Regions from separate parts of the Homo sapiens genome. Here all the other regions are linked to region 6. Evidence: promoter capture Hi-C in 16 types of primary human blood cells and fetal thymus (Javierre and others, 2016). All regions are on one chromosome and are shown on one strand. Each heading gives the region's core, a stretch centred on a gene start or on the middle of the fragment in contact. The rest is flanking DNA. Distances are from core to core; before and after follow the strand shown. Region 1 overlaps PLXNA2 (plexin A2). Region 2 overlaps PLXNA2 (plexin A2). Region 3 holds the start of MIR29B2CHG (MIR29B2 and MIR29C host gene). Region 4 overlaps PLXNA2 (plexin A2). Region 5 overlaps PLXNA2 (plexin A2). Region 6 holds the start of LAMB3 (laminin subunit beta 3).

Region 1 (4,238 bases), core at 1,653-4,152, 1.6 Mb before region 6:
ATGCTCCCTATTTGTTCTGCCCAGGCCATTCTTCGTCCAGCACTCATCCATTGCTTCTGTTTCACGCTCAGCAGGGCCAGGGGTCTTGACTGCTATTTCCTGTCCTCATTTGGTGGAACTGAAGGAAGGTCAGAAGCTCAAGCAGCAGGTGAAGTGCAGCCAGAAGAGATGGTGGCAGTAGAAACAAGAGCAGCTCTCATCGCTGGGGGAATGGCCCCAGAATAAGGTAAGGCAGCTGGGTTGGTCTGCTTTCTTCCTTTGCTGGACCACTTTTCCTACAAAACTGGTACCCTGTGCCACTAGGGGAGGAGAACTGTTGCCTGCTAAGTTGGTGGCAGGAACCAGCTTCCTGAAGGATATAAATTCGCTGGAAGAAAGACCTTGGTTTTGTTCCGTGCTGTTTTCCCATCTCTAGAGCAGTGGCTGGCAGACAGTGGCTACTCAAGAAGGTTCCCAGATGAATGAATGCAGGAAACAGTTCCCTCCTCCAATGAGATTAACAGCTGATCCATGCTTTTAATGACTGAACTCTGTAAAGAGGGGAACCCTCTGCCAATGGGGGATCAAAATGGTTTTGAGAGCCCTGCTGTGGAGAGAGGTAGGACAGCAAGCACAGAAGCACCTGACCCCATGCAGAGGACGGGAGGCAGCAGCAGGGGCCAGCTGGAGGGAGTGCTCTCCATTGCCCATTAGCATCCTCTGTCTTGCCAAGCACCCTTCTGGGGTCCTCTTCCTTTTCCAGAGCATTGTCTCTTGTGCAGATCAATGAAACGAAGCGAAGCTGGATAGACTTTGGAGAGAGACTTCCCTCTCTGCCTCCCCCAAGATGAATGGCTTCTTGTGGAGAGGAGCTGTGGCTTTAACACTTCATCCTTACCCAAGGTCAAAATATCCTCAAATTGGATAACAGGGAGAAGAGAGGCCAACCAACTCCCTCTTTTTCTCATCCAAAGGGTGTGGACTTCATTGGTTCTTGGTGGCCCAAAGCGAAGAGGTGTGGAGGAGGAACAGGTGGGCAGCTGGAAAGGGGGCAGGGCCTTATAACCTTTCACCCTCATGGCGTGGCTTGAGTCCAGCTTTTTCCCTTTTCTTAATTCCTTCCTTAAGGATGCCCCAGGCTACTTCCTTTGTCAGCCCAAGTTCCCCAAGTCTCTCATGGAATCCTGAGAAATGTGGCCAAACCACTCACAGCCAGCTCCGGCTCTTCACTCTCCACCCTCCAATTGGCCATTGCCCCATCATTCTCCACGCTCTCCACAAACCTTCAAGGAAACGCCCCAGGGGCAGTGAATCGTCTCCAAAAGTAACTGCTGGGAGATGCCAGGTAGATGCATTGAGTTAAGGGCTGGTAGAGATGCTACTGAGATGTCCGACTGCCTTTAACTTCTTGGTGGAGCAAAGCCTGGATGCCAGTCTGAGCAGCCATGCGGCCAGAAAATCTTCACCCAAACAGAGCTCAGAAGTTAGATGGGGTGGGCTGAACTTTTTTACAGGTAGCATAAGGTCTCCTGGTCACACTCTTCTTACCTATATCTCCTTTCCTTTTATCTCCATAAATTATGGGCTCTGCGCTGATAAGCTTTGAGTGCTATGAAGAGCAAACACTTTGGCTTAGTGCGGAAGGCCAGTCATTAGTATTTCCTTCAGGCTACTAATAGGGCCTGAGAAACTTTAAAGAAGTGGATTTTCAAAAGAAAGTGGCCTTGGCATGGCTGGTTGTGAATTATAATGAAAACAGCAAGTTTCCTGAGTATTTTGCTGAATGCTTTTCTCTTCCCATTTGTCAGCCGCATTCAGGCAAGAAACTAGAGCTGGGGAGACCGGGCAACGTCTGCTGTGTGGTTAGACAGCGATCCAAAGCTACACGCCAAGGATGGAAGCCAGACCTCTGCGCTCCCCTCCCCCAGCCCTCTCCTGGGAATCACATGTGGTCAGCAGGGCCTTTGGAAATTGGAACCACTTGGAGGTAAAGCAGGGCACGGAGAAGCTGGAGCCCAGAGTTAATAACAGAGAAAATGACCCTGGTCTAGTCTCTCTTGGAGGAGCTGGTCTAGCTTCCCAGCATCATAGCCTAGGATTCCTGACCCTTTGAAAAGTGAGGAAGGGCAGCTTGTTCCTCTTTGTCTTCCCCAGTCCCACACCTTTGCTTCCACTTGTCCTCCTACCCCCTGACTCCAGTGCTGCTTGCAGAACAGTTGGAGCTGGCTGCTCGGATCCAAGGTAATGTGGGAGGCCTGGACACTCTGATGGCTATCCTGGCCACCAAGGTCCTGACACTCACAGAGCGCCTTTCCTCTCGATGACTCCCACTGGCTTCTATGGGGCCTTTGGACCTGGGCATGGAGCTTTGGTCTCTTTGTTTGGAATCTACACTCAGGAGAATTGGTTATCCATAGTTTTAGGCATCATCAGAAGAGACAGAGAAGGAAAGTCCAGTGAGAAGTCATCCACTTGTCCTTCACACTCACAAGTCCGTGAGAGGCAGAAAGAGAGGCAGAAGGTAGTAACGTGGGCATGCCACAGTCATTTCTACTGAGGAAGTGCTGTAGGCCCAGATGGTCAGGAGCTTCCGTATATGAGCGAAGGGTGGTCTCCCCTCTCCAGGCACGAGAGAATGAAAGAAAGAAAGCATAATAATAAATACTGCAGCTTCTGTAACCTATGCTCTTCAAGTATTGCTTGCTGTAAACAGTGTTTGATTTTTGTTTTCTTTTTAATTGCCAGGGACCACTGGATGATTGGAGTGAACTCCAAAGTCAAACACCTATGTCTCCAAATCAACTTTCAAATGGAACCTCGTGGAGGCCTGGCCCACACACCTCCAGGCCGTTTCCCCAGGGTGCCTGGTTTATGACAGGGATTGATATGAGGCAGGGCTGCCAGGTGTCTGGTCTGGGAGAGGCCCACCTCACCCCACTTCTCATAGTAACTTTAGGGAAATTGAAAGGAAACATATCAAAGACCAGCTCCTCATTTGTTGAGGTTTAGGATTAAATAAAACAAAACAAAAAACAGTAGCAAAAAGCATTGGTACTATCTAGGTACACATCTCCTCTCAAAAGATGAGAATATACAGGTGTGTGGTAGATAAAGCTCAGTTTCCAGTCAGCCAGGGTGAGCTCTTGATGGCTTTGCAATTTGTGCAAAGTTCTGGAAGTTCCATACTCCTCTGGCTGCCGGGATAATTCCAGGTTTTACTGGCCTCTGTTTTTGCGAAGTGTTTGGTGCATACTTGTGCTCATCATTCTTCTTCTCCTCTTTCTCTTTTTTTTTTTTTTTTTAATTTCAAGGAAAAGGAGACAGTCATTTTCTCTCCAATGTCTCTCAGCATCTCTGCTTTCTCTGGCATTTGGAAATAGGCATTATATAAAGAAGGAGGAATGGGAGAAAAGATGGAAGGGAGACAGAAATCAGAATTAAACAAAAGTTGGACGGGATTAACAGGGCGGCTTTTTGTTTTATTTCTGTTTTTTTCCCTTTTTCTTAAAAAAATTAAATAAAGTTCTCATTATTTCCCCAATATACATCAAATGAGTTTTCATGCAAAGCAGCAGTCACAGAGGCAGAACTGTCCCCAGCTCGTGCCTCTCGGCTTGAAGAACCACCTTCTCCCGGCCCCGGGTTCTCTGGTGTTCTCACTGAGGATGGACGACGCCCACTGTCTCTCCCAGCTGGAACTGGCTATGACGAAACTTGGCTGGCGTAGGGAGAGGAGTCCTCCCCTCTCCCCAGGATGGGGTCTCAGGGGACAGCAAGCTCTGGGGCCTGATCCCCATCACTTGTCCTTCCATCTGAGACTCCCAGTGTGACAGCTTGGACAGGTCCCTCTTCCCAGGAATGCGAGGCTCCTCCTCTCAGCTCTCAATGGACATGGCATTAATGAGCTGCTCCACCTTATAAGCCAGCCGCTGCCGCCGTGCCTGCTCATCCTGCTCTAGGGCCCCGATGAGCTGAGGAGCAAAAACAAAGGCAGGAAGACTTCAGGACTCAGAATAGAAGACACCATTTTCTGGAGTCGTTCCCTCTTTGCCCTCTGTCTACCTTTCCATTCTGCCTTCATGCACATAACCTTAAATAATTTAAATGATTAACTGAATGAATACATGCACACACACCTATATATATGTATGTATGTATGGTGTTTCAAACATTCTCTGGCATAGGAAGTGCTATGCAAGTGTTAATTATTGCTACTACTACTACTACTTTCACGTTCAATGCTAAAGAAGCTTTGTGAG
Region 2 (4,343 bases), core at 291-2,790, 1.4 Mb before region 6:
CATCCTCACCCTCAGAGCGCACAATCACCCCGTACATGGTGCCCGTCTTGTTGACACTGGACAGGTAGTGCTCCTTCTTGTGGGATGGCTCCACCAGGATGAAGAGGTCATCCAGCCGCAGCAGCTTGCAGACCCCCTGGTAGAGGCTCCCACAGGCCAGCAGGCGGTTCTCAGAGTAGTCAATGATGAGCAGCTTGTTGACATTGTTGGTGAGGGTGAGCACTTCGCTGCAGGGCTGCACGATGAGGGGCGGGTAACAAGACTTGTTGTCCTCTTCTGGCCCTGTCTTATGAGCCACCTGGATGGTCAGGTTGCCTGTCAGCTTATAGACCCGGTTGATGGCCCCCACATAGACGGCCCCCGTCCCTTGGTGGACGGTCAAGTGGTTGAAGGTCCAGTCACGATTCTCAGAGTGGAAGGTGCTGAACTGAGGCATGCCGGCTGCTGGGGGGGCCAGCAGCACCCAGACCACTGAGAGCAGGACCACAGAGCGGCTGTCCACCTCCAGGGCCCGGGGCCAGGGCCGCCTCTGTTCCATGCTGAGAGGGGCGGCGGTGAGGAGACGGCTCCTGTGTGTGCTCATCTGCTCCACCTTCCCCGGTTGGCCCTCACATGATTCTGCAAAACACAAGGCAGAGTGGTCAGACCAAAAATAATTTCCGGGAGGAGCAAAGAGGCTGGCCTGACCCAGGGTCCCCATCCTGGTTTAGCTCTGTGAGTCTCCTCCTTCTGCATTTTGGTTTTTCTATTTTTAACATACTTTCTCCCTCTTAGGAATGTTCAGGGAATCCTGTTATCTATTTTGGTCTCTAGCCTTTATGCTATAAAATACTTGCTTTTTTTAAAATTTTATTTTACAAAGCATCTCTATTTCTGGCCCCTTAAGCCATCGTTTTCATCTCCCAGAGAGGTTAAAAGGCTGTTGAAGTTCACCCAGCCAGTCAATTTGATATTAGGACTAAACCCAGTCTTCCCTATCCTACCGGCACGTCTTATCCCAGCCCAGTGGAAGTCGCTCCTGTTTTTTGAAAGCTTGTTAGGCAGGCCCTCCCCCAGGCTCTCCAGGTCAACTGCTCCCAGAGTCTGATATTGCACACAAAATTCCTTCCTATTTTAGACTTCCATCACCTCACTCCGCTGCATCTCTTCACTTTCTCATGCTCTGTTATCCACAGAGAGGCAAGGAGCTGGTCACCCTGAGTGAGAGTGCCCTGCTCTGCCCTCAGCCCTTTCTTCTCCAGCAAGAAGAACCCCTGATCACTAGCTGTTAGAACAGCTGTTAGAACTTGTTAGGAAAGGGAAAAATGTTGTAGCCAACAAGACTGGGATTCCCACATGTGCCATTCCGGAGCCGGAAAAGCCCTCGGGAGACAGGCAGATCTCTTGAGATTCCCCCATCCTTCTCAAGGTGGACGCCCAGCTGCTGCCAGGTAGCCAGGTCCTCGGGAAATTGCTTCAACCTCTGCCTCTCTGCAGGCAGAGCACATGGGAAGCCAGGACACACAGAGAACCAGTCTCCTTGCTAGGGGTTACTGGCTGGCTGAGTCCAGCTTCAGCCACCTGGGGCAGGGGTACCAGATTTGGGAGAATGTGGGGAGCAGCAAAGGGTGGTGAGGTGAGATTCAGTCTCATTTCAGGCACTGCTGGGGCCTCCTGACTGTTTCAGCATCCATGAAATCACCAGCGGGCCTCAGTGGGCCATGCTCGAAGCCCAGTCTCTAGCCCTGACTCCTTTACTCTTCCCCCTGCCTCCTGACTCCCAGGCTTTAAGGCTCCTCCACTTCCAGAGCCTTGGTGCTTATTCTTCCCTGTTCCAAGGAAGCTGCCCAGAGGGGCAAGGTGGGGCTCCTGAGGACAGCCTGTAGCCAGGGGCAGTCTGGGCCAGGGGCAGGAAGTCAGAGAGCAGAGCCTGGAGGTCAGAGAGCAGGACCTGGAGGTCAGAGAGCAGGGCCTGTTCCATCACTATCATGGTACTGTCCTGACTTATGGAGAGGGACAGTGGGAAGTGACTGCGGCACCAGGAGAAGGCAGCGAGCTGTCCGGCAGAGAAAGCTTTTCTCAGCTGGAAGATCATCCAGCAACCTTCTCAGGCAAGTCCAGACAGAACTCTGGGCACATAAGGTGGCAGGGATGGAAACACCCGAAGGATGGAGAGTTTGCTCCAAGGCAGCTTAGGAGAGGCCTTTCTCCCTCAACTCCCCATTCTGGCTGGATTGGGTTATAATTAGAACAGACACCACTTAGAGAATCCCCTAGAGTTTCTTTAGGAACGACCCTTCCTCTTGTTCAGTTCTGCATCCTCGGCCTGGCAGCCACCGTGGTGCCACAGTAGGTCCCACCTAACTCCCTCCTCCAACCCGACTCCCCCAGGGTGTTCGGGGTGACTCATGAGGCCCTGGGCTTCCTTGGAAAGAGGAAGGCAACACCGGCATGAGACTCAGGCTGACCTCAGCTACTCCGACACAGCCCTTCCGGCCCCAGGCGCACACCGGCAAAGCCTCCCAACAGACAGGGCTTTCAGTTTGGAAACCAGAGGTTATTTTTAGCTATGTCCTGAGGCCGGTAGCAGGACGTGAATTCCTGAAGAGGAGCTGTGGAAAGGAAATAACAGAATCCTTAAATTCTCCAGCTGGATGGGGAATTGCAAGAGGCCATTCTCTGCCCCTGTCGCTGGGAAGAAAATCTCCTTGGGTTCCAGGTGGAGAGTGGTTCCTCCTTGAGGAGCCGCGAGGGGAGGAAGGGGGTTCTGGTAGCAGAGATAACATGGAAGGACTTAGTATGCGGTTAAGATCAGCCACCTCACCTCCCTGCTTGGTATCCTCCCAAGACACAGTTTGAATAGTGAGTGGCTTTTGTTGTTGTTAGACAGAATCTGGGAACAAATTTGGGATTTGAGGCAAGTCAAGTCTCATGTCCCTTTCTGGTAGAATGGGAATAACTACAGTATGTACCTTTCAAGTTGTCATGACAGTAAATGAGACAATATAGAGACCAACCTCTTAGCATGGTTGCAGGCACACAGTGAGCACTTAACTTATGTTAGTTTTTGTTATTATTATTATTATTGAGACAGAGTCTTGCTCTGTCGCCCAGGCTGGAGTGCAGTGGTATGATCTCAGCTCATTGAGACCTCCGCCTCCCTGGTTCAAGCGATTCTGCTGCCTCAGCCTCCACAGTAGATGGGACTACAGGCACGTGCCACCACACCCGCCTAATTTTTTTTTTTTTTTTGTATTTTTAGTAAAGACAGGGTTTCACCATGTTGGTCACACTGCTCTCAATCTCCTGACCTCGTGATCCACCTGCCTTGGCCTCCCAAAGTGCTGGGATTACAGGCGTGAGCCACTGCACCTGGCCTGTTATTGTCTTTGAAGACTCCACAGGAGATGGCACTTCTGAAATCCTGCCACAGCTCTTGACTTCTCTTTTTGCTTATATTCTTCCTTTCCCACCCACAATGAGATGAACACTGTGGGTGTGCCTTTGATCCCTAGGCCTCCCCGACCCAGTGACAGAGCTCAGTCTGGGAAGCATGTGGCAAGGGGAAAGAAATAGATCCAAGGTGATCTTCTTTGTCATACTACTGCACAAGTCCCAATATAGCCTCTCCGCAGACTGCAGGAAGGCTGGTGGAAACACAGGATCCTGAGAGTTAGACTGAGAATGAGAAACGTCCTGATGTCTAGAAGGCATGAGGTCACAGGGCAGGAAGAAAGGTGGGAGACTCAGGAACCCTGGGTTCACATTCTGCCTGTGTGACTCATGAATTATAGTGTCACTCACTTTAGACCAGTCTGGCATTTCCATGAGCCTATTTCTTGATCTTAAAACAAAAGGTATTTGAATTAGTCAACCTATAAGATTTCCTTTTTCAGATAAAATGCTACCTCGAAGCTTAGTTCCTTCAGTTCCTGGAGTCTGTGATTCCAATAGCAGCTGAGGTTTTTTGCTCCAACCTGGAGAGGCTGATTAGGTCAGGAGCTTTTTTCTTTTTCTGTTTTTTTTTTTTTTTTTTTTTTTTTTCAGGCCAGTAGTTCTAAACAGACCACTCCAGCTGGGCTGTTTTCCTCTCACCCTCATGCAGCATTTGCTTTGGGACAGGCCACTCCTGATAACCAGCCAAGTGAATTCATCTCACAGGACTCAGGGACTGCCCGCCTGGGAGCAGCTGTCATTGGACACTGGAGTCAAGAGGAGGCACAGTCTCCTGCAGTGAGGGGAGGTTTGCACCCCACCTTGGGAGTGTGGCCTTCATGAAGACAGCTGACTTCAAGGGCACGTTGAGAGCCTTCATCTTTCTATGCCAAATTGATGTGACTAAGTGGCTGTTCCAAGCAGAGCCC
Region 3 (4,700 bases), core at 478-2,977, 1.8 Mb before region 6:
GAGAAAGTGAGACTGCCACAGGTGGATGCAGAGGAGAAGAGGCATGGAAAACATCACTGGTGAAAACAGATAGGAAAAGGAAGTTGCCTGGTTTTGTTGGAACCTATGGTCCACCAAAAGAAACTGAGAGAGGTAAGACTGTACAGGAAACCTAAGGCCAGTTACGGCCAGCATTGAGCATCACGCTAAAGGGAAGGAATTTTACTCTGGGAATTATGAGAAACCATTTTAAGTTTCTGAGCAAGAAAGACAAGATGGCCGCTGCACGCAGAAGGGCCTGGAGAGAGGGGGAACGGGCAGCGGGGAGCCTCACAAGAGGACTACAGCTGGAACCATGGCACTGGCAGGGGGCATGGAGGAGAAAGAGAAGAAAAACAGTAAGCAGGCAGGACCATCCGAACAGATCCTCAAAGCTGCCATGGACCTCACTTCCCTGTCCCCACAGGGAGGCTGCTGGAGACAGAGCCTATTTGGGGAACACAAACCACGGGTCTGACACGTCTGAGATGAGCTGCCGAGCCTCTGCCTCCACTCTCATTCAGACACTCAGCTTTTCCGAACTACTCCAAGCACCAGGCTGATGAGGACATGGGAAACCCACGCTCTGGCAAAGCCGGGCCCAGGTGTTGAACCCCTACCCAGACGCCTTCCACCTGAATCCCCACCCAGGACTGTGTCCAAGGGTGGGACTAGGCGGCTCTGCCCCTAGAGCCACCTTCATTGCGGCAGCCACCACTGTGCCTGCCTCTGCTGTGCTTTTGCCCCCCCTTCCCCTCCTCCGTCATAGCCCCCGCCCCCCGCCCACTCTGCGGAACTGGCACAGCAGGACAGAAAAACCAACGCCACCATGTCGGAGACCAGCAGAAATGGCTCCAAAATGGCAGCTCATCAGAGGAGTCCAGAAAGATCATAAACCCACCCAGGGAAAAGAGGGGAAGCCAGTGACAAGGGGAGTAAACTGTCAAAACTACCTCCCAACCAAGCCCCCGATAATCATCACATCTTTTCCTTCAGAAACATCCTCTCAAAAATCAGATGGGACATGAGTGAAAGAAGGGTGCCACCCCCTCCACCAGAGAGGCCCTAGGGGCCATAGGTGGTATGGGGCACTCAGAAGGATGTTCTGTAGCCTCTTCCCCAAGATGAGGCTAGAAAACCACCACTTTTGTCCTCAAGCTTGGCTCCTGCCAGTAACTAGACAAGAGTTAGCCCTCCCAGGGATTGCAGTCCTTCACTGCTACCCAGTCAGACCCTCCCCAGCTCTATGGGCCCTGGGGAGCAAGAAGGTAGGGTTGCAAGGAAGGGCCGAGAAGGCGCGTGCCATGCCCTCAGTTATGTAATAAGAAGGGCGGTGCTCGTCCTAGGCCAGAGACCCAGGGCGCACTGCGCTTCCAGATGCGCAGTCACGGGTGGGGGCCACTGCGCATGGCGCAGGGCTTGGTAAACCCCCTCCCCACAAACGTGAGACCTGCGACAAAGACAGGTTAGAGAGCCGGGACCCTGATTTTTCGAGGCCTCCCTCCCCCAACCAAAGGCGGACAGCCTGCTGCCCTAGTTTTATTCTGATTCTCCTCATTCCCTAGACTGACAAACCTTTCTAACCCGGGGCCTCCAAACCTCCCGTCTCCCACTGACTTTTCTGGAAATCCCACCAGATGCGGAGTTTCGAGCAATTTCCTGGGGTCAGTCCCCCATCCTCACCTTTCCAAGCACCACGTAGTAGTAGCTTCCAGAAGGTAGATCTTTCCCATACTGGGCTCAGCTCACAACTGGCTCTTGAGGGCCTCTGGACAGCCCCGGACGTCAATGCAAATCTGTTGTCCCCAGGGAGTAGCCCAGAGTCAGCAGGAAGCCCAGGGTGGTGGCAGTATCAGCAGCAGCAGCTCTGCCCTACCTTGCCCATGCGTTTCCAGGGGAGCCAAGAATTATTTTGCCGCAACACTGAGGTGTGGCTGATTGGAAAATTCCCTTTTCCAACACCAAACTACAGAATAAATATTTTCTTCCAATTTGGTCAACCCTCTGCATACCCATCTCCCTAGCATTCTTCCCTCTAAATAAAAAGTTTTGGGAGCCCTGAGCTCTTCCTCCTTATAGTGCGTGAAATTTTAAAAGGCATAGGAAGAGGCTTCAACTGGGCAGTCAAAAGCAGGCATAGACACAGGAGCCTACGCACACCCCTAAAGAGATTTTAGAAAGCTGCTGGGCTTCTCCCCGCTCCCCTTTAAGCAAGTGAAATGCAAATTCAGATTTGATACCCTGCCCTGAGCCAATCAAAAAAAGCTTTTCACCTGCCATTGGCCCACCCACCAATCAGAGGAAGTGTCTGGAGGGAGAGCCCTCCCCTGGCCAATGGAAGGCCAGCTCAGTCACTTAGTTAATGATGCAGCAGTACAGGGAAGGCCATCACATGTGAACTGGAAGGGAGCCAACATGGAGACACAGAGAGCGCAAGGTAAACAACTTTCCAACGCCAAAAGGATGACATTTAATCTCTAAATGCTAGCTTCCCTTCTTAGCTCATCCTTAACCCCTCTCAGCTGGCCACAGAGACCCCAGGAGCCTCACTACCTGTCCCCATAGAGCTCCTAACCAGATGCAACAGTGACTGCGTCACCATTCCCCACTTTTCCCAACTACGCAGTGACAAACCTACCAGCTTTACCCCACTTCTCCCAGCCCACACCCCACCCTGGCCACTCGGCTCCCCACCAGCCTCAGAATCCCAGGGCCAGACCTTTCAATAAGGCAACCCCTGGGAAAAAACTGTCCCTCTGTCTTCCTTTCGGCACTTCTCACTCCCTTACCTTCCACATAAGACCTGCACGGACAGACAGATGGACGCTGACACCCAAACAACTTGGAGAACCAGTCTGTCTGTCCACTAGAAGGAAATAGGGTAAAAGCTGGGAGGTCAGGTGGGAAGCAGGGGATGGTTCACTCCTCTCACCTCTACCCTGGTCAGGCTTGAGCAGCTGACACTAGGGAAAAGAAATTAAAGTGGGAAAAAACCCTCCCTCAGAGAAATAAATAGCAAAAATCGAGAAAGAAGGTGAGAAAGACAGAGCACCCACATACACAGAGACAGCGCCCCTGATCCCAGCAAATACATACGTGGGGGAAGAAGGGGGTTACGCCATCAAGTCCTGAAGCCCGTCGGACCACCCATCGCCGCCTGCGCAGACCCAAATCTTGGTCCCGCCGTAAGGTGCCGCAGTCCCGAATGTTCCAGAATTTGGTCCCATCAAACCCTCCACCGTCGCCCCACAACCTCTTGCTCCCACCCCTGCCCCCCACCACCACCCCACCTCCTCCCCACGGGAACCGCCCGTGCCACCTTGCGTGTCATCTCCTAGCCTAGGCTACCCAGAGGCCTCTGGCCCTGACAGATCTCTGAACGCTCAGCAAGTGAGCTGGCAGAACCTGGTGCCCGGTGTTGCTATGACTTGTTTCTTGATTTCTCTCTCTCTCTCTGCTGCAGCACGGCTGTTGCTAGCAGACCTATCGACGGAGCTTGCTTGCTCGCTCGCTCTCTCACTCTCTCTCTCTCTCTCTCTCTCTCTCTCTCTCTCAGCTCTGTGACGCAGATCTAAATTCTCCAGTCTGCTCCTTGTGTTGCAAGAGCAGAACTGCAGCTTTTCCCCTGGAGAGCCGGAGGGCAGTGCCAAGGCTGGTCAAACAAGGCAAAAAAAGTTGGGCCTACACTCTGCTTCCTTGGCCACACTTTTCAGCTCACACCCTCCCACCTCACCCCTCCTGCACCTCACTGCTCTGGGGCATAGAGGTCCCTGTCCTTTCAGGCTCACTCCTTCCCTGAGGCCTTCTCAGGCATAAGAGTAGCTTAACTCTTTGAGTGGCAGCCCCCAGTGCCCAGACAGGGCTGCCCTGTACTAAATGTTGCAACATGTTTTCTTGAGCCATATGGGCTTCTCCAGCCCTGAGAAAAAATGTTCCTCACCCTGACCACTGTCCCATTAACTCTTTGTGCCACAGACAAGTCCAGGATTACAGTCATAGCTGATTTCTGTTGTTTTTTGCCTTTTTGGCCAAAAACCAGGACCTTTTTCTCCCTGGAATTTCTTAAGGACAAAAAGCGTAATTAAAACATTGCCTGCCTACCCCACACATGAGATCCTTCTATCAGGGCAGGAATTTGAAAAACCAAATTGAACTGCAGCCTGAAGAATCCAGAGTAAAACCAGTCTGGATATCCATCCTTCCTGGGCTCAAAATTTTAGGGCCTAGGTAAATACGTTCAATTACTTTTCAAGTAATTGGCCACACAGTCTCAGAGATTTGGGTTGCTGAGTCATTTGTTCCCAAGAAGATCTGACAACATGAAAAACAGCAAAACAGAGCAACAGCCAAGCCTGGACCTGAAGTGGCCAATGACTGGGTTCTCCTCTCCAGCATGGGCAGTCAAGCAAGATGAGCATCCACGAGCCGACCCCCAACCCCTCCACAATGTTCATGCATGGATGTCCACACTCCTGGAAACTCTTCCAGGAAGGGGTGGTCCACCAATGATCTAGAGATGGAGTGGGGTTGTTTTTGGATACTCACAGGTCTCCACTACAGCAAGCAAAGAGCCCCCAACATTTTCCTGCCCCTCCCCCCAGACGCAAAAATGCTTCCAAGAACAACTGAGATACTAAATCACTAGACCCTACATACCCAGATAGACCAAGGGAGTGTTGGGT
Region 4 (4,141 bases), core at 56-2,555, 1.5 Mb before region 6:
CGCGCCTGGCCTCCAATCCTTCTTGATCATCTGAAAATTATATGGGACTAATGAACTAATAGAATCAAAGAGAATTTGGGACTGTGGCAGAAAAACATGGTAATAGTACAGGAGTGGTAGTAGTAATACTAGTAGGAGGAGTCACTCTAGCAGCAACAGAGGTGGTAGGCAGCAATGACTGCCATTTATTAAGCATCTCCTATGTCAAGATCTGTGTTAGACATTATATATCCTCCATGTCTGATACGCATAGCAATCTTGCCAGGCAGGCATGGGTGGTCCAGATGAATAAACTGAGGTCCCCTCAGATCACATAATTCATCGAAGGCAGAGTTGTGCAGCACAGGATACTGTGGTTGGTGTGGAGACATGCAAAGGGGGAGAATGGGCCTGTTTTAGTTAATTCTGCGAAGCTACAACAGGGCAACTGACACTTCCTTCAGCCCCACCCTGGGGAGGGGGTCAGTACATATTGTTTGGTGATATGAGACTGGGAAACCTCTCACTGGTGACTAATGCAACTGGATGCCAAAGTCCAGCAGGATTAGATTAGTTCGGCTCAGCTGGTCCCGTCTTCTAAGTATTTTTTTCCCATGACTCAGGGCTGGGAGTAGGGGACAGGATTCTCTTCCTCCGTCTGACCTTGCAAACATGTCACTGAAAAGGAGCCTGATCTGACAGCATCACTACCCCAGGGAGCCAGGGAAGAAGTGGGGTTTTGGGGAAGCCTCAAAGATATCAGTAATAATAGAAAGCACTTGCATGCCAAGCACCATATTAAGCACTTTTTACACATGATTTTATTTAATCCTTACAACAAATATGCAAAGTGCTTATTACTACCCCACTCCACAGGAAAAAAAAAATCGAAGTTCACAAGTTAAGTCACAATTGTAGTAATATTTAAATGCACATATGCCCATGTGCCCAAGCTCTGCACTCCATCCCTTCCATGAATTATTTCTTTATGATCTATTTTTTCCTTAGCACTTATCACCCACTAAACATAATATATATTGTGATTACTTACTTTGTTTGTCTGACTTCCCACATTCAGATAATTTCCATCAGGGCAAGAATTTTTTTTTTTTTTTTTCTTTTTGAGATGGAGTCTCTCTGTGTCCCCCAGCTTGGAATGCAGTGGTGCAATCTCAGCTCACTGCAACCTCTGCCTCCTAGGTTCAAGCAATTCCCCCACCTTGGCCTCCTGAGTAGCTGGGATTACAGGCACAATGCCGCCATGCCCGGCTAATTTTTGTATTTTTAGTAGAGATGGGGTTTCATCATGTTGGCCAGGCTGGTCTCGAACTCCTGACCTCAGGTGATCAGCCCGCCTCGGCCTCCTAAAGTGCTGGGATTACAGGTGTGAGCCACCATACCTGGCCAGGGCAGCCATTTTTGACAGTTTTATTTTCTACTGCTTTATACCAAGCTCCTGGCACACAGTACATATTCAATAAATATCAGTTCAATAATGAATTATGTCATTTAATCCTTACTGTAATCTTATGATGCCGGTACCAGAACTGTCCTCATTTTACATTGAGGAAATTAAAGCTCAGAGGTCACACAGCTAGTAGGATGGAGTCAGGACTGGATCTCTCCAAAGCCCCTATACTCTTTGTTATGCAAATTGGTCCCTACCCGAAGGCAGGAGAGTGGACCAGGTGGTCTTTGTAAGTCCCTTCCGACTCAGAGATCCAGGTCCATGTACAAAATCCACAGACAGGCAAGGCTTAATGGTGTAAAAGGGTCTGTATTTTCCTAAAGATAAGACCTCTGTAAACACCAGCACCTTGGCCTCTTGAAAATTTTGCATAGCCTATTTAGGTCACCTGTATTCTGTGAGCTTGAATCATTACGCCCATCCCACCCATCCATAAAACACAGTTCTCTGTGTTTCACCTGCTTGGCAATAAAGCCCCGAGCTGCAGGAGCTCAACCTTAAGACTGCAAAACAGCCAGCTGAATACACAGCCTGAGGCCTCATACAAGAATTGTCCAAGATTGAAGTATATTAGAAACTACACAAAAAGTACAAAAAATAAATGAGTCTTTAGTTTCTCCCCTTTCAGAATGACTCTGGGAGATCAGGACCTCCTTCCCTGGGGTCTGCTGGGGATCTGGACAGAGCCGACATCTCCTGTCTACACCTGCCATGGTCAAGCAAGGAGATGTGCTGGCCAGAGTGTGTGTGTCAAGACGGGTGGGAGTGGGACATTCTGTAAATATGCCCCTTTCTTGTGCCAACCAAATGCAGCCTTTCCCAGCTTTCAGAAGACCAGTTCTGGGGACCCAAGAGGCCTATAGAACAACAAAACAAACAGCGAGCTTGGCGGCGGGAGCCCGGGCAGGGAGCCAAACTCATTACTAGGGATGTGGTGGTGAGCTCCCTGAACCACCACCCCACCCCTTCCATGCAGGCTCTGGGGAAGGGGAGAGGGTCTCTACTCCCCACCACCCCAGTGTCCAGCATTGCTGAGACGCCTGGGCGAGTTAGGGTATCAGATGGGCGGTCTCAGGTCCCAGGAGAGCCACTAAGTCTCTTAGATGTGGACCTGCAGCTCCGGCTGTTTACTCAATCAAGGGTTCATACTGAGAGACAAGTGAATCATTTCCACTCAGAGGAATGAGTGGCTATTGTTTGGTGGGGCTGGCACAGAGAGAAAGGCATGTTTCTCAGCTTTTCATCCAACTTGGCCTTCCATCCGCCAAGGCAACTCCACCCCACGAGAGGAGCCAAGTAACAGGTTAGTGTGTTTGGGGAGAAAGTCTAAATGCCAATGTCAATATTGGCATTGGAGGGTGGGGGTGAGCATATAACCTTGGGCAAGACATTTAGTATAGCTACAGCTCAGTTTCCTACATCTGTAAAATGGGGTAAAGATGCAGGGGCGATCAGCACCCTCAGTTGAAGTATTTGAGGAAGATGAAAAGAACCACGGAAACGTATCTTGTAAACAGTCAGTGTTATCAAATAACTGAGTAATAACCCCAGGGCTGAGGAGAGTTAATACTTTGGTGCTCCTGATGGATTCTTTCCAATGCCTAAGCTGCTACTGCAAGAAGCTCACAGTTTTCCTGGCTTTGCTTAGTAAATCGTTTGTGCGATTACAAAGAGAAGAATAGAATTGGGACGTCAGGGCTTCCTGTGGGCTGGGGACTGGAGACCTTGGGTTGGTATGTCCCTTAGGGAAAGGCAGAAAGAATTTTCCTTTAAGAATTTCACAGGCATTTCAGCAGCCACCATTAGCTAATGGGAAAGAAGGTAGTGCCAGAATAGGCCGGGGCCCTCCCCAGAGCTTGGAAAGTCTCTGAGGATTTGCAAAAACATCCCAAGAGTCATACAGAGACTGGTGGGGGAAGCAGTGGTTCCCTGGGCATTCTTTCCTGCTTCCCCTGTTATACACAAGCCTGCATCTGATCCAGGTGAAGCAGATGGCTGTCTGTACTATTCTGGGGCCCTCCAGGCAACAGTGTAAATGCTGTCCCCTTCCTCCAGCCAACATTTCTGAGATTACCACCCCACCCTCTTCCAGATGTTGTTAACCAGAAAACAAACTCCTTTCCTGTTACCCACCAGAAGTTGTCCTGTTTCCTTGACTCCTCATGCCACTGCCACGCCAACCCTCCTCCTCCCCTCACTGACCTACCCAACACATCATACCTTCCTTCCTTCGCAACCAACCACATCAACAGGAGTCACCGTTGGTGTCTGATTCTATTTCAATTCGTACAAATAGATGTCTGGCATAGAATAGGCACCCAATACATTTGAGATCACTTTCATGAGCACCTAATGTGTATCTGGCAGTGGGGATGGCGTGATGAATGTGAAAAGGAAGGCCCCTGCCCTCAAAGATCTGTGAATCTCAAGGGAGGTAGACACCTTAACAGCTGCTCCCTTGCCAGATGCTGTGGGGTCTAGGAGGGTGCCATGCATAGTGGTTGAAGGGACAGAATAAAGGACATGTCACAATGCTTGAGCAGCAGAAGAGGTTTCTGGTGGGGATGGAAAAGAGAGCCAGCAGCATCTGCTGCTGTTTAAGGTCCCTGGGACTAAGAGGCTAGAGAGCCTCGGCAAAACACTACCCCCCAGCTTCTGTGAGGAGCCCTGCAGGGATGTGAAACCTGGGTTGAG
Region 5 (4,109 bases), core at 519-3,018, 1.5 Mb before region 6:
AAAAAAGAGCAAAGGTCACGCTCCCATGGCACTGTTTTTGTGGAATTCCTGAGCTCTTTGGAGTAGAGGGGAGGAGAAAGCTATGGCAAAGAGTTATGAGAAGCCTTGCTTTGAAAATTAATGTACACAATGTGCAGCCAGGTGCCTGTTCCCTACAGGGCATGGGGACAGTGTGCACAGGGACATTGTCACTTTCTGCTGAGCCTGAAGCTCAGCTAGAGGAACAGGTGGGGAAGAATGAGGGTGGGCCTAACTGAGGGAGGAGAGCTTGGCTGCAGCCCAGTGTTCCTGAAAAAGGTTTACACAGTGAGTCAGGCTGGCCCCAGCACCCCCTTGAGGAAGGCCTAAAATACCAAATGAAAGAATAAATCTTCAGGGGTAGGGGCGGGGGTGTTGCCTGCCTCTGCCTTCTCTCCAAGGGGTTCCTATGTGTGCGAGCTAGCAGCACTCCCCCATCTCACACTGCACCTGGGCCCTTGGCCTCCTTGTTGGGAACCCAATTTGGAAGGTATCGAATGAGGGACAATGTAAACACCTGTATCCAGGAGGATGCGAGGAGAAGAAGAGTTCCAATAACTCACCCTTAGGGGAGTGGTTTGCAAAATGTGGTACTCAGATCAACAGCATCAACATCAACTGGAAACTTACAAAATCAGCATTTGGAAAATACAAATTCTCAGGCTCCATCTCAGATCCATTAAATCAGAAATGCTGGGCGTGGGACCCAGTGATCTGTATTTTAATAAGCTCTGCAGGTGATTCGGATGCAAGCTTAAGTTTGAGAACAACTAGTTTAGGGTGTGGGTTGAAGTCTTTTTCTTGGTTTAAAGAGGAGGGACATGTGCTACCACACAAAGGGGCCTTCCCCCTTGCCCTAGCATGTAAGCCCTGACACACAGCATCCCCACAAGCATGACAGCACGCTGGGCCTGGGCTACGGAGAGTCTCTGGTGATGAGGACAGGGGCAGAGGCCCTGTGGGTGGTTATGGGGAGGAGAGAGGCGGGGAGGCTGCCACAACTCATTTTCTCTTAACATGAAAGCCCAGAGGAAGCCTAAGCATCCTCGCCATTGAAGCTGGTAAATTACAGGATGATGATGGTGATATTACCAATAATGATGATAATAGCACCAATAACGTGAGGTCAGACAGGCACTTTCCCGTCCTCGGTCAAGGGGTAAGGTTGCAGCTTTGGTGCATTTGCTTCTGATTTAGAGGAAAACCTGGCTCACAGCCAGCTCCATTTCCCTGCTAGGAGGTGCAGCCGGGGCTTTTGGCTCTTTGTCCTCCCTCCCTTCTGCCGGACCTGTCCTGTGGTCAGGAACCTCCTCCCTCCTGGCATAATGGTCTGCCAAGAGGCAGGCAGCACTCACTCCCCTTCTCCCCCACCAGACCAACCCTTGGTTCACAGACTACACGTCAGCCCTAGAGGTCAAGATCAGAGGGAGAGGCTCAACCTAGATGCTATCCACAGGGTGGGGCAGATGAGGGCCCTGGAGGCTCTATTAGCCTCTCTCAGATAAGCCACAAAGAGAAACTGGAAGGCAAAAACTGTGTGAGTGTTAGGGTAGGAGGCTTCAGCAAATCCATAAATACCTTGAGCTGAAGCCTCCCCTTGGAGATTCTGTACTCTCTCCTGCTGCCCAGGGAAGCCAGAGCAGGGATTCAGAATCTCAAGGAGAGAAAAGGTCATCTGGTAGCATCTTCCTTCTACAGTATCCCCTGCCACCCCCCAACCCCTGCCTAAGGCATCTTTCTTACTCTTCTTTGAGATTTCCCAGGATGAAATACTTCCCCAAATGCTACAGCATTTTCTAGGAGGATCAAAGGGAACAAGCAAATACCCAAGCCCTGGGTCTCTCCCCTCTGGCTGCCTCCTGCCCCGCCCCCACCCTGGGGCTTCAAACACGAGGAAATTAGCACAAGGCCCCCTGTCATCACATGCAGTGACTTGTGAACATGTGCTTGGGTTGTTCCTCCTCCACAACAGGCGGTTTAGAGCAGCTCACTGGGGGCTTGTATTTTTTTTTTTTTTTTTAAATAACTGTGTGTATGTTAAAGTCATTAAGGCTGGGAAAGGGGGTGGAGTGGTAGGAGAGTAAAGGCCATTATATGGGAGGAGAAGAAAAATGGCCTGTCTTCAGGCTGTCAGCAGAAGAAACGCCTCTGCATTCAAGCGGTGGGAGAGGGGCTCCGGTAGGAGGCCTGAGTGGGCACCTCTGCCGGGATGGCTGGGAGCAGGGGCAGAAGGCAGAGAAAACAGGTTCATCACATAGCCTGAGCTTTGGCTGTGGCAGTGGCAGTGGCTATGGCTGCCTGGGTATGGACTGTCACTATTCATTAAAGAGCCACCAAGAGAGAAGAAACCTGGGAAACAAAAACCCAAGAGCTCATGCTTAACTTTCATGTATCAGGCACCGCGTTACACCCTCTGCATCTGCTTTATGTTGAATCCAAACAACATTGGCATCCATCCTAGAAAGGCACTATTATTTACTCCGTTTGGCAGACGAGGAAACTGAGAGTCACAGTGGTTAACTTTACACAGCTAGCAAGGGGTGGAAGAAGTGTGGAGACACGGGTGAGTCTTCAGAGATTTTGTCTGAAGTTGTTGCCCCTCATGAGTATTCGCTGTCATTGCCCCACACCCTAAAGCAATCGAGGGGAACTGGGATGGAAGATATCCCAGGAGGGGTAAAAAGGACTGTGATGAGGGAAATGGGGGTAGGAGGGAAAGGGAGTAACCGCTATTGGCCCTGGCCATGTCAAGCTTCTGGGGTCTCCCCCTGCCCAAGTTTGAGAGGGGATGGCGGAGGCTGACTTCTCTGCGACCCCAAACTCCAGCCTTCCAAGCCTTCCAAAGTTCACTCAGTGAGAAACCTCTAGTGTCCAGGCTCTGAGCCTGTGACCTCTTCCTTCCTTTCAGATTTTAATTTGCTGGACTGGGAGACAAATGCATGTGGGAGGTTCTCTGGAGTGATAGGAACACACTGAGGGCTATAAGAAGCATCAGAGAGGCTTCATGCTGGCTGGGGCCCTGAGGACAATCCCATCTACCACTTCCCGACCCAGGTAGGCAGACCGAGCCTTTTCCTTCTGAGCAAGCCCCTTTCCAGGCACTGCTGTCACCTCCTAAGGCTGAGGAGGGTGGTGGCAGGAGGGTGCAGGGAAGGCCCTGTCTGTTCTCTGGTCTTTCCTTCAGGGGGCCAGACCCTGAGGGGTGCAGCCTAGTTCCCCAGAGCACATGCTCCAAATCACAGCTCCAGTGACAGCTTTTGCTTTCCCAGTGAGGGGGCTAGCTCAGGAGATGAAAGTCTGATCCCACTGGCAGCTCCACAGGCTTCCTTTGCCAAAACACACTGTGAAAAGACCCCTGACCTCCACCTCATACTTTCTCTGCTCCACCTCCCGTCAGCCCTGTTTGCTTCCCTCCTCCCTAGAGAGGGTTAGACAGCCCAGTAATTTAGGGATCACTAGCAAGAAAGGTGCAGAGGTCAGAAGTCAGAGAGGGGCTGGGAGGGGAATCTCACCCCTGCTCTCTGGCAAAACCTCCCACCTCTTTCCGCCATCTGTAGACCAGGCCGTTGTGGGCCCGAGTTCACTGTGAAGGTAGGGATGAGGTCCAGGGATGGGAAGTGGCGGAATACAGAGCGATAGGAGGAGAAGCTGTAATTTTAAATTATGTCCAGAAAAATAGCTTTTGGGAGGCAAATGTTCTCCTCCAACTTTCTTATTTTGAAATTTTGCTAGGAAAGAAAATGTTACACTCCCCTGAGACCGTGTCCCATTTAGGAAGTTCTTTCTATTATCTCATTTCAACTCCTCCCTGCTCTAGCTGCTATACAAACAAAGGCAAATTGACTTAGTGTCTCTCCTGTCTCTTTCACCGTGGCCTGTTCAGTCTAGCTCAGCTCAGCTCAGCTCCAGAGCTTAGAACTCAAGACAAAAGGAATCAAACCAGTAGAAGGAGATGAGCAATGGGTTCATCTCTCTTCCTTAAGAAATCAAAGGCCGGGTGCAGTGGCTCACGCCTGTAAACCCAGCACTTTGGGAGGCTGAGGCGGGCGGATCACAAGGTCAGGAGTTCGAGACCAGCCTGACCACCATGG
Region 6 (4,660 bases), core at 1-2,500:
ATGTGACTCACAGGGTGCCCTGGGAAAATCCCATCCCTTCCCAGACTCCAGCTTCCTCCTCTAAAATGGATGGGAAGGAGTGTGGACCCTGCCCTACCCCACACAGCCGTAAGGACAACGTGGGGAGCAGGAAAAGGCTGGACCCTTTGCAGGAGAAAAGCTGTAGAAAGGGCCAAGACCTAGTTCCAGCCCCAAGAGAGAGGGCTGGCTTTTCTCAGGGCCTAGACCAGCAGCCTCAACCCAGCCCCGCCCAAAGTGAATGAGTCAGAGTGGCTGACGGCCTGGAGGCAAACCTTCTCCTGTCACGGGCATGGCCTCCAATACCATTCAGGGCCACTTTGAGTTTGAGGCTCTGTGCCCACAATTCTGGGATGCAACAGGGAGAGATGTATGGCTGTCTTTAACAAGTGAGTGAGGGTTTCTTCTGAAAGGGAAGCAACCCAAAATGTCTTCAATGATGGGCTGGGGCTCGACAAGAGGGGTGGGGCTGGGAGGCCACAAAGCAGGGATTCTGAAGGAGGCTGGGGAAGGATGCTCGAAAGCCACCGTGGGGTCCCAGAGGCAGGCCTGCCTTGTGGAAACATGCCCCACCCTTGCTCATGCAGTGACCCTTCTGCCTTGAATTGGATGTTCACTCTGTTCCAATGACAGCCACAAACTCTTTTGGCTGGGGTGGAGGGCTGGGGGCTTGGCAAGGCAGGGGCGGGGGGGGAAATTGAGGACATTTCTGGCATCTTTAAATTATAGATCCTAATGCTTCAAAATCATTCCTTCCAATCCCTCTCCTAAAAGAGTCATGGGCCCAGGGAGGGAACATGTGGCCTGGGGTCCCACAGCTAACGATGGCCTAAGAGAGACCCATCTTCTGACTTTCATCCAGTGCTTTCTCAGCTTTCCCACCCCTGACTGAAAATCCCCCTGCAAGTAGGCATTCTGAGCCAGGCCAGCCCACCCTTCTCACTTCTCTTTTGTGCTCAACCCCGGATCTGAACCTGCTTTCTTCTAAGCCACTGAGGTGCTTATCAAATGTGAAAAAGAAATCAAAACTGTAGCAGACATTTTAACCTAGCTCACCTGAGTGAGCTCCCAGGAAGAGGAATAAATCAGGCCCTGAAACCAGGCCCCAGGCATCCAGAGATACAGTCCTCCTCCCGCATCCGGCCCGCACCAGGCAGGTAAAGACAGGTAACATACCTTGCTGTGTGTTCTGCCGTTCTTTCTCCAGATCGCCTGAAAGCTCCTCTTGAATGTGGGGGTCTCCCCTCCCGGCTCCAGGTTTTTAAACAACAGCCTCACCTCTGGAGACTCCCTGGCTGGGTGTAGCCCCACCGCAGGGCGGGTCTCAGGAATCTGGCAGCCGTCACACCCATCTGTCGTCACTGCACCCCCACCTCCCAGGACGGGACTGGGCAAGTGGGTTGGTCGGTCCGTCCCAGAGTTCTTGTAGTGAGCTCCACAATGCCCACCTGCCTGTGGGGGCTGCAAGGGGCCCCTCAAACAGAAAGCACAAGGCACATGTAAGTGATCATCAGAGACCAGAATTCACAGGGTGGGGAAGGGCCCTTGCATTTGTGCCAGGCAATGAACTCAGCATTTTCCCAAAGCCAGCAGGGGTCAGCTTCTTCTTGTGACCTGGACCACCCCAGACAGAAGATCAGGCAGAGAACACAAAGATTAGGGCTTATATAGAGAGTTAAAGCTCCAGACATATCACCGGGCTGGAAGGTGAGAAGACTCAAACATCCAGGACCCTGGAAAGCACCATTCCCCTCCCCAGTGAAAAAAAAAATGAAAAATCCCAGCTTCTTGGGGCATTTGGAGGATCCTTAAAAGGCAAGGTTCATCAGGAAGGATTCAAAGCTCAACTCATCCAAGGAAAGCTTAAGAGAAATGAGCAGAGTAACTAAATGGCTCGCCTCCAGCTCCCTCCACAGGGTTGGCAGGGAGCCCTGGGACAGGTAGCTGCCTGTGAGTCACTCCTCCCACCTGTGGGGAGGGTTAGTCTCCTAGCCCCTCCCTCCCTAGGCAGGAATGCCCGCCTGGAGGGCCAGAAAACAGACCTGACCACAAGTGGTGGAAGGAAAGGCTGAAGCATAGCTTGACTGACAAAGTCAAAACAGACTTTCCCTGGCCTCCTGCCAGGCCTGAGAACACAGCTTCTTTTGTGGGCTCCTTGCTCAGGGATCCTGGGCTTCCAGCCACTGTAAATGGAAGTGGCAGGTCCAAATTGAGAGGCTGGTCTCACAGGACACTCTTTCCCCCAGGTTAGGGTCAGAGAGCTTTTAGGGAAACCTGGAGGGTCAGCCAGTCCATATCTTGGCCCTGGAGAGCCTGCACTGGCACCGTTTTGGAATGCTAGGACCTCAAAGCTACTATTTAAAGGAGCTTCTTAACTACGATTCCACTTTGTTAGTGTCTCCTAAACAGAAAGTTCTCCACCATTGGAGGGTTATGTCCAAGAAATTGGCTTGAAGACCCTTAAGGGGGAAATGTAGAATTTTGTGGATTAAATTGGGCATTTCTAACCCTCAGATTCGAATTAAGCATAAGTTCAGGTAGGCAGAAGAAATAGTGTAATTAGCAAGTGGGCAGTGAGTTGTTGATGTAAGTTGATGCATAATTGATAGTCCAATAAATGTTAGAGTCTTGCCCCCTGTAAGCATTCCAGTGAAATCTAGCTCAACTCAGCAAGTAAGGTCAGTAGAAGCAGTGTCCCTTCAACACAGAGAGACCTCCCTCAAGTCCCCCACCGAGAAAGGTCAGCTCTGACTCTGACACACCTGTGTTTTCAGTTCTCCCACCTGGTGGTCTCTTTCTCTCCACTTCCCCAACTCCCTGAACTCAGAGCGCTCATGAAACTTTCGCCCTCTGCCCATCACCAGAGGATGTGACAAAGAACTCATTAATAATTAACTCAGCAGAAGAGAGCAGGTGTTGCAATCCCAGATCCTCAGAGGAGAAAAGGCAGGGCAGGTGTGCGGTGGGCCTCACCATGAGTAGCTGGGGCCCCTTAAATCCTCCTCCTCCTCCCTTTATCTGAGGCCATGAGCCCAGGTAAATACACATTCGGTGTCTCAGACTTCACAGGCTTGGGCAGGTCCTGGAGTGGTTTGGCTTCGCAGGAGGGACATGCCAATTGCTGTGCTTGGCTCTCCCCTACACTCCCGGCAAAGTCCAGGAAGCTGTTTATGCAGACCCCCAAGAGCAGCCCAGCCAGCCTCACTCCTGAGGGACACTGATCATTTCCAAGTGGGGATCCAGTCCCCCAAGAACTCCAGGGCTCCAGGCACAAGCTCTGGAGCTTCAGAACCCAATTTGTTCAGTCAAGTAGCCTAAAATAGAGCCTGAGGCCAGATCAGGGTCCAGCTAAGATTAAAGGGGTGTGGTACTGTGGCTGGAGCCCCTCAGCCTCCCCTGTGTGCACACCTTTCCTCTCTCCCTGCGCCCATCCTCCTACAACAGAGCACTTATCTGCCCTAGAGCCTTGACTTATTAGAATGTGTGCTCAGGAAAGTGGCTAGTGAAGTCATCCCAGACTTCAGTATCTTTCAAACCTCATCACTCCATCAGCAAATTCGGTCAGCTCTGCCTTCCAATAATAATCAGAATCTACTTCTTCCCTCCTGGCCTGAGCCTCTTTTCCTGGGACGTCTGCAACAGCCTCCTCACTGATATACAGTCAAGTCCCAACACAGCAGGTTATGCACCCCGAGCTCAGAATCTTCACATGCCCCTATCCCACTCAGGGCCAAGGCCAGAGCTTTTTCAGAGTCTAGGGGACCCTACACCACCTTCCTCCCATTACTCTTCACCTCTACTACAATGGCCTCTATCCCTGTCTTAGCTCAGGCTTAGGGCTTTGGCTCCAGCTGCTTCTGCTGCCTGGAACGGTCTTGCCCCTGGATATCTACAAAGCTAACTCTCTGACCTCTTTCAAAGTCTTTGTTCAGATCCTAACTTCTCAATGAGGCCTATCCTAAACACACTATTAAAATTACAGCCAACTTCCCTGCCCCATCCCTGTCCCCCATCCTAACACTCCTAACCCCACCTACCCTATATTTTGGTGAGTTATTTATTTACTTATTTGGTAGGGGGGCATCATGTACCAGCTTCTAACCAACTATATAATTTATCTGCTTATGTTTATTTTCTGTCTCTTCCCAACTAGAATGTAATATCCAAGAAGGCAGAGATTTCTATCTTATTCACTACTGTTTTCCAAGTGCCTGGCACATAGTAGGTGCTCAATACTTGTGGAATGAATGGATCCACACTAAAGTACAAACAATTGATACAGTTCAATGCATCCCCTGTGCCGTTGATGTGTAGTTGCATTCTCAGAGGGGACAATCCAGGCTTTGGGCACTGGGATGGATTACTAATAGTGGAAATTCCTGTATCAGCCAGAGTGCGGAGGTCTTTTTTGAGGCACCTATCTCCAATTACAGAAATGTCACCATATTGACAGAGGCAGTCTCCTTCTTTGCCTGCTTCTCAGTCATTCCTGGCAATGTCTCTGACAGGGTGTGGGGGTGGCATTATAAGCTACTGTGTCTATTATCCATCTGTCAGGCTCAAACCGTCCAAGTCGCTAGGGAGATCAGCCAAGATCTGATCAATCAGAGATCAAGGGATAGGGAACAAAGGAAGGAGAAAA

Evidence for each region. The method cuts DNA at HindIII sites, captures the fragments that hold promoters and counts their contacts. A CHiCAGO score of 5 or more calls a contact.
Region 1: a fragment that was not itself captured here is called in contact with the fragment with the promoter of LAMB3 in region 6 in 1 of 17 cell types (M0 macrophages); the score reaches 8.4 in M0 macrophages.
Region 2: a contact is called between a fragment that was not itself captured here and the fragment with the promoter of LAMB3 in region 6, in 1 of 17 cell types (M0 macrophages). The highest score is 5.4, in M0 macrophages.
Region 3: a fragment that was not itself captured here is called in contact with the fragment with the promoter of LAMB3 in region 6 in 1 of 17 cell types (M0 macrophages); the score reaches 6.5 in M0 macrophages.
Region 4: a fragment that was not itself captured here is called in contact with the fragment with the promoter of LAMB3 in region 6 in 2 of 17 cell types (M0 macrophages and M2 macrophages); the score reaches 7.6 in M0 macrophages.
Region 5: a fragment that was not itself captured here is called in contact with the fragment with the promoter of LAMB3 in region 6 in 1 of 17 cell types (M0 macrophages); the score reaches 6.6 in M0 macrophages.

What each region holds. Positions count from the first base shown.
Region 1 is chr1:208,023,389-208,027,626 of GRCh38, forward strand. PLXNA2 (plexin A2) reads right to left here. Exons shown (of 32, transcript NM_025179.4): 32 at 1-3,950. The coding sequence ends at 3,855. Among named protein-coding and RNA genes, the nearest start is that of LINC02767, 67 kb to the left of the region's middle. The HindIII fragment of the contact is 2,650 bases long and covers 1,578-4,227 here.
Region 2 is chr1:208,217,385-208,221,727 of GRCh38, forward strand. PLXNA2 (plexin A2) reads right to left here. Exons shown (of 32, transcript NM_025179.4): 2 at 1-618. The coding sequence starts at 538. All of the region lies in intron 3 of LOC105372884 (a long non-coding RNA gene), which reads left to right. Among named protein-coding and RNA genes, the nearest start is that of PLXNA2, 25 kb to the right of the region's middle. RefSeq lists an enhancer at 2,280-2,574. The HindIII fragment of the contact is 1,020 bases long and covers 1,031-2,050 here.
Region 3 is chr1:207,820,503-207,825,202 of GRCh38, forward strand. MIR29B2CHG (MIR29B2 and MIR29C host gene) reads right to left here and starts at 2,201. Exons shown (of 6, transcript NR_135299.1): 1 at 1,702-2,201. LOC148696 (a long non-coding RNA gene) reads left to right here. Exons shown (of 1, transcript NR_026817.1): 1 at 1-2,094. RefSeq lists enhancers at 1,892-2,071, 3,842-3,891 and a silencer at 2,212-2,391. The HindIII fragment of the contact is 1,107 bases long and covers 1,175-2,281 here.
Region 4 is chr1:208,200,895-208,205,035 of GRCh38, forward strand. All of the region lies in intron 3 of PLXNA2 (plexin A2), which reads right to left. Among named protein-coding and RNA genes, the nearest start is that of PLXNA2, 41 kb to the right of the region's middle. RefSeq lists a silencer at 430-724. The HindIII fragment of the contact is 8,872 bases long and covers 1-4,141 here.
Region 5 is chr1:208,178,144-208,182,252 of GRCh38, forward strand. The region is part of intron 3 of PLXNA2 (plexin A2); the gene reads right to left. Among named protein-coding and RNA genes, the nearest start is that of PLXNA2, 64 kb to the right of the region's middle. RefSeq lists enhancers at 1,043-1,599, 1,723-2,676. The HindIII fragment of the contact is 1,999 bases long and covers 770-2,768 here.
Region 6 is chr1:209,651,175-209,655,834 of GRCh38, forward strand. LAMB3 (laminin subunit beta 3) reads right to left here and starts at 1,251. Exons shown (of 23, transcript NM_000228.3): 1 at 1,195-1,251. RefSeq lists an enhancer at 753-1,952. The HindIII fragment of the contact is 2,819 bases long and covers 1-1,878 here.